2 separate regions of the Homo sapiens genome follow, and region 1 is linked to region 2. Evidence: promoter capture Hi-C in 16 types of primary human blood cells and fetal thymus (Javierre and others, 2016). All regions are on one chromosome and are shown on one strand. Each heading gives the region's core, a stretch centred on a gene start or on the middle of the fragment in contact. The rest is flanking DNA. Distances are from core to core; before and after follow the strand shown. Region 1 overlaps CISH (cytokine inducible SH2 containing protein). Region 2 holds the start of ABHD14B (abhydrolase domain containing 14B).

Evidence for each region. The method cuts DNA at HindIII sites, captures the fragments that hold promoters and counts their contacts. A CHiCAGO score of 5 or more calls a contact.
Region 1: a fragment that was not itself captured here is called in contact with the fragment with the promoter of ABHD14B in region 2 in 1 of 17 cell types (erythroblasts); the score reaches 6.9 in erythroblasts.

What each region holds. Positions count from the first base shown.
Region 1 is chr3:50,607,607-50,610,619 of GRCh38, forward strand. CISH (cytokine inducible SH2 containing protein) reads right to left here. Exons shown (of 3, transcript NM_145071.4): 2 at 767-987; 3 at 1-536. The coding sequence ends at 1. Among named protein-coding and RNA genes, the nearest start is that of CISH, 2.7 kb to the right of the region's middle. The HindIII fragment of the contact is 1,077 bases long and covers 713-1,789 here.
Region 2 is chr3:51,972,511-51,975,345 of GRCh38, forward strand. It overlaps ABHD14B (abhydrolase domain containing 14B), which reads right to left and starts at 1,539. Exons shown (of 4, transcript NM_001146314.2): 1 at 1,455-1,539. ABHD14A-ACY1 (ABHD14A-ACY1 readthrough) reads left to right here and starts at 2,554. Exons shown (of 17, transcript NM_001316331.2): 1 at 2,554-2,694. It overlaps ABHD14A (abhydrolase domain containing 14A), which reads left to right and starts at 2,554. Exons shown (of 5, transcript NM_015407.5): 1 at 2,554-2,694. The coding sequence starts at 2,626. RefSeq lists enhancers at 728-1,664, 1,698-1,877 and silencers at 1,108-1,257, 1,478-1,647, 2,478-2,835. The HindIII fragment of the contact is 8,219 bases long and covers 1-2,835 here.

The DNA of each region.
Region 1 (3,013 bases), core at 1-2,500, 1.4 Mb before region 2:
TCAGAGCTGGAAGGGGTACTGTCGGAGGTAGTCGGCCATGCGCCGGGGCAGTGGCAGGCAGTCCACGTCGGCCACCAGACGGTTGATGACAAGGCGGCACAGGTGTTGCAGGCTGCGGGCACTGCTTCTGCGTACAAAGGGCTGCACCAGTTTTAGGTGTACAGCAGTGGCTGGTGGAGGAGCAGGCAGTGCTGGGTCACTAGGCGCATCCTCCTTAGGCATAGGCAGGGCCGGGGTGGGAGCAGGATCGGGGCTGTCGCTTCGGGTATCAGCAGTGCAGGAGGCCACATAGTGCTGCACAAGGCTGACCACATCCGGAAAGGCCAGGATGCGTGGCCTGGACAAGCAGTTGGAGTCCAGACGGAAGCTGGAGTCGGCATACTCAATGCGTACATTGGTGGGGCCACGAGTGGTTTTCACTGACAGCGTGAACAGGTAGCTGGGGTGCGTGCTGTCACGTACTAAGAACGTGCCTTCTGGCATCTTCTGCAGGTGTTGTCGGGCCTCGCTGGCCGTAATGGAACCCCAATACCAGCCTAGGCAAGTGCAGAGGGGGCCAAGGGACATAGTGGAAATTAGCTGGGGTAACCAATCCAGTGCAAGTCAAGGCAGTGCCTCCAGCTTCACGCTTCCCTAGAGAGGGCTGTGCCTCTCCCATCAGACTCTCCTGGGCCGGGCTATGCCTCCCAAATCAGACTCAAAGGCAGAACTAAGCTTCTCCCACCAGACTACTCAGGAAAAGGCCTGCCTCCCCCCTCAGACTCACCAGATTCCCGAAGGTAGGAGAAGGTCTTGGCTATGCACAGCAGATCCTCCTCTGGGTCCAGCACCTTTGGCTCACTCTCTGTCTGGGCTGGGGTACCCTCTGCCACCTCCTCGAGGAAGGCCCCAGCAGGCAAGGGCTGCATGACTGGCTTGGGCAGTTCCAGGGACGGGGCCCACAGGGGCCGCTGCCCAGTCCGCTCCACAGCCAGCAAAGGACGAGGTCTAGAAGGCAGTGGATGAGCAGTGAGTGGAGGACCCATGCTTCCCCCATCTCCAGAGACCCCCCTATGCCCCAGACTAGTTTCATGACCTCTGGCTGGCCCATCTCACTATGAGCCTCAGCTTCCCCTCTACCCAGCCATGGGCTCAGTTAGTCCAGTATCTCGTTCCCCACTTGTCATCACAAAAGCCACCTTGATTGTTTCCATGTGGGGATCCTCTTTTGAAAGATTCTTTTCCACTGCCCTGCATTTACTAAACAGTAATTAATTGCTCTCTATTTTATATCAACCAAAAACACAGATCATTCCCTATAGGCATGTCTAATGTTCTCACCACACTGATAGGATTCAGTGCAAAGTAGCTTCATGTTTGTGCCCTCCTGGCTGAAGTGGGCTGATTAAATGGCCCACTGATGAATGGTCCTAGTTGAGATAGATCTACGACAGACAAGTAGATTTATCCTATGATAGATCTGTGTGGGGTCCTCCAGAGAAGCCCCAGGATTATGGTAGGCTGCCTGAGGTCACACGCTACCTCCCCATGGATAGGAGTGTCTCTCAGAGGGACCTAGGTCCACACTGGCCAGGACTTAGAGACTGAAATAATCCCCTACCCATACAAGTCAGCCTATCCTGGCCTCTGCTTCTCCCAGTGGAGGGTCTGGGGTGGACAGTGGCCTCTAAAGGCACTGGCAAGTCTCACCTCCTGTCAGTATGAGCTCCCACCAAGGGCAGGGACCTAATCCACACTCCAGTTCCCACCCTGGCAAGCCAGCCCTACCAGGCTCTACGATCTTGTACAAAGCTTGCTCTTCACTGGGCTTCAGTTTCCCTTTTCCGCAATAAAGGGTCCCACCAACCCATGCACTGAGAGGTTCAGTAACACCATATTCTTGGATGGCTGGGGTTGGGGGAACTGAGCCGACCAAAATCTGAGTAGCAGCTTTCTCCTAGGGGAAGCCCACCCAGCAGGGTGATACTAGGGCTTCCTCCTTGGGAGGGCAGCAGGGACTGGCTCTACTTCCCCAGGAAGACAGCTGCTCCTCCCTCACTCCTTGCAAAATACATCTCCAAGCCTTAGTTCTGGGTCTAGTCCCTGGCTGGGCCTCAGGACACCGCCATAATGAAACCATGGCCTTGCCCTCAAGGAGAACCAGACTGGCTGGGGAAGATGACACTAAGAGTAATTATAATGCAAAGTCATAAAACTGCAGGTGTCACGGGGGAGTCAGGGTCTGCTTGCTCCTGAGCTGTGTCTTCCAGGCCAAAGGAAGGAGCTGGGGGAAGGGACCCCAGGTAGAGAGGACAGCATGGGCAAACAGCGCCAGTATTGCTTGTGAGGCAGGAAGGCGCAGGCAGGAGCTGGTGGCAGGAGCCAGACCTGACTCCTGTGTAGGTTATAGGTGACCCTCTAGGTTCTAACAAATCATGGCCCTATGACCACTCACAGTGAGAAAGGGCCACACAACTCTGGCACACCACAGCCTGACAAAAACTTTTCCACACCTACCCTGGCTGTACTGTGGGATCTTGGAAATCCCTCTTGGAGAGCTGGAGGCCAAATTTTGAGATGACCTGCTTGCTGGGGCCCAGAGCTACCTTCCCAGGAGCATGGTTGGTGGCTAGCCAGTCAGGCTGGAACCTCTGTGGGTGGCCACGTCCAGATAGCTTAGCCGGTCCTCAGATCCCACATGTAGGTGTGGGCACCTTTGGGGCTGATGTGGTAGCTGGGTGTATGAATAGCTGTGTTGATCACCACAAGCTCCTGGTGAGTGTGTACCTGGGCAGGGGTGTGTCCATGGCTGTGTCATCATCATGGTGGGGACAGTGGCTGGTGTGTTCTAGGTACATGTGTGTGCCCGCTTTGGAGCGCAGCAGTCTAAAACTTTGTTCCCTGACACCCAACAGTAGCCCTGAGCTTACAAGGGGGTGCTCACCTAGGGTAAAAAGTGAAAGAGGCTATGGGACCCCGGAATGCAGGGGGAGGCTCCTGGGGTGGAAGGCAGTGGTGGGGCAGGTATTCAGGA
Region 2 (2,835 bases), core at 289-2,788:
TGCAGTGAGCCGAGAACGCGCCATTGCACTCCAGACTGGGCAACAAGAGAAAAACTCCATCTCAAAAAAACAAAAAACAGAAAAATTATCAGTGGGGGTGCCTGCTGTAAAACCTCAATATGTGGTGGGGCTCCATTACAATTACTGTTCTTATTCTCATCGTTATTATCCTTTTCTATAAATGGGGATAATTCAATAGTACTAGCTCATAGGTGGTTGATAGGATTAAATAAGGCCATGCATGTACCATGCCTAGCACGTAGTAAGGGCTCAGTGCTCAATCAACGGTAAGTTACAGGTCATGAGTTGTCAATGCAGGCCAGAGGGAGCCCAAATTGGGGTAAAAAGCCCATTTTATTTTATTTTATTCTATTTATTTATTTTGGGACAGAGTTTCACTCTTGTTGCCCAGAATGGAGTGCAGTGGCATGATCTCGGCTCACTGCAACCTCCACCTCCTGGGTTCAAGCGATTCTCCTGCCTCAGCCTCCCGAGTAGCTGGGTTTACAGGCGTGCGTCACCATGCCTGGCTAATTTTTTTTTTTTTTTTTTTGAGACGGAGTCTCGCTCTGTCGCCCAGGCTGGAGTGCAATGGCACATCTCCGCTCACTGCAAGCTCCGCCTCCCGGGTTCACGCCATTCTCCTGCCTCAGCCTCCCGGGTAGCTGGGACTACAGGCACGCGCCACCACGCCCGGCTAATTTTTTGTTTTTTTTTTTTTAGTACAGACGGGGTTTCGCCGTGTTAGCCAGGGTGGTCTCGATCTCCTGACCTCGTGATCCGCCCGCCTCAGCCTCCCAAAGTGCTGGGATTACAGGCGTGAGCCACCGTGCACGGCCTAATTTTTATATTTTTAGTAGAAACGGGGTTTCATCATGTTGGCCGAGCTGGTCCGGAACTCCTGACCTCAAGTGATCCACCCACCTTGGCCTCCCAAAGTGCTGGGATTACAGGCGTGAGCCACCGCGCCGGAACTAAAAGCCCATTTTCTTCGGTTTTTTTTTTTTTCTTTTTTTTTTTTTTAAGAGAAGATGTCTCGCTCTGTCGTCCAGGCTGGAGTGCAGTGGCGCAATCATGGATCACTGCAGCCTTGACCTTCCTGGGCTCAAGTGATCCTCCCGGCTCACCCCCAGTAGCTGGAACCACAGGCGCGCTTCCACACCGGAAAGCCCATTTTCTAGAGGCGGAAACCGAAGCGCCCAGTGGGAAAGGCGACCCGCCGGGGATGCGGGGTGCTCAACGCGCTGCCACCTGGGGCCCAACGCGTTGACCTCGCGGTCAGGTTGCTTCCGCGGACTACGGTTCTGGCTCGCTAGCTCTGGAAGGGAGCACCGGGAGGGAATGGTGGCAACTCCCAAGGAGGGGACCCAGGGATCCGAGAAAGGAAGACTTGGGGTAGGTGGGGTTGGATTTTGACTGGAGAGAAGAAAGGGTCAGGAGTGCAGGGCGGGTACCTGGGGAGCTGCGTGGACTCGCGCAGACGGGAAGCAGGCGCGTGCTGGCGGTGACCTGGGGCCGGAGGAGGAACGCTGGGAAGAGGCCGGGCCCCATCCAGCGGGGGCGGGGACTGGGCCGTGCTCCGGGGCGCCCTCTTGTGGCCACAAGCTCGCAGCGTCCATAGACTCCGCTAAACTCGTTCTCACAGCGGCGTCAGTTTCCCAAAGCCTCTCGGTCTCACATGCCCCAAACGCGGTGCTGAGCACGGTTTCGAACTCTTCAGCGACCTGCCCCACATGGACATGGAGCAGTCTGAGGAGGAAAGTTCCTTCGGGATCGCATCCTTGCTGCTGTCTTCCTGCTCCCCATCCCCCTTATCCCCAGCTTGAACTGCCCAGGGCAACTTGTTGGCCTGGCACGGAGTTGAGGCCCGACAGGTTTGAGTGCGAGGCTCCGCCAGTGTCCAGCCAAGTGGCCTTGATCGTTTTCCCAATGCCCCCGAGCCTGTTTCCTGCCAGTAGAGCGGGTCAGATGTTGCCAACCTCTGCAGAGTAGCAATAAGCAGTAAACGCCACGCTCTGCACAGCCTCCCAGTGCTGGGCCTGGTCGCCACGCGGAGCCTTGGGCTGGGACAGGCCAGACGTTGGTAACACATCGCCAACCAGGGCAGGCGCCATGAGTAGACGTGAACGAGCCCAGGGCCAGCCCAGGCTCTGACCGTGGGTGTGCGTCGGGGAGGGGGTGGGGAGGAGTGGGTAGGAGTCAGGAAAGTGGGTCGGCCAAGACCTGGAGCTGCTGCATAACAATATCTGGCATTTACACAACGAGGCCTCTGCTCCGGACACTGTTCTGAGGCTTGACCCGTCCTTAAGAACCTAGGACAACCCTGTGCGGTGGGTTTTATCCTTAACTCCATTATACAGGCCAGAGAACTGAGCCAGGGTGGAGATGTTCCACTGAGAAGAAGCCACATGGCTCTCCGCCGGCTCTCAAGCCAAAAACAGTTCCGAAAATCTGGGCGGGGAGCGGGCCAGAGAGCGCTGGGGCTCTGCCCCCAGCACCCCCTCCACGCAGACGACTCGGTAACTGGGTTGCAGGCCCGCGGCTGCGGAGTGCGCAGGCGCGCCGAGATGGCCGCGCTCCTGGCCGCCTAGAGCCGGAGCGGCCCGCGGAGCTGCGGAGGCAGCCATGGTCGGGGCGCTGTGCGGCTGCTGGTTCCGCCTGGGCGGGGCCCGCCCGCTCATCCCGTTGGGCCCGGTGAGTCTCCCGGGGGAGGGAGGCCGGCCGGTGGCCCAGGGGAGGGCCGTCTTTACCCCGCCCCTTGCCCCGGCGCCCCGGGGCAGAGTCCCGCGGAAGAAGCAGACGCTGGGGCCGCGAATGTGCATGTGCGCGCGTGTA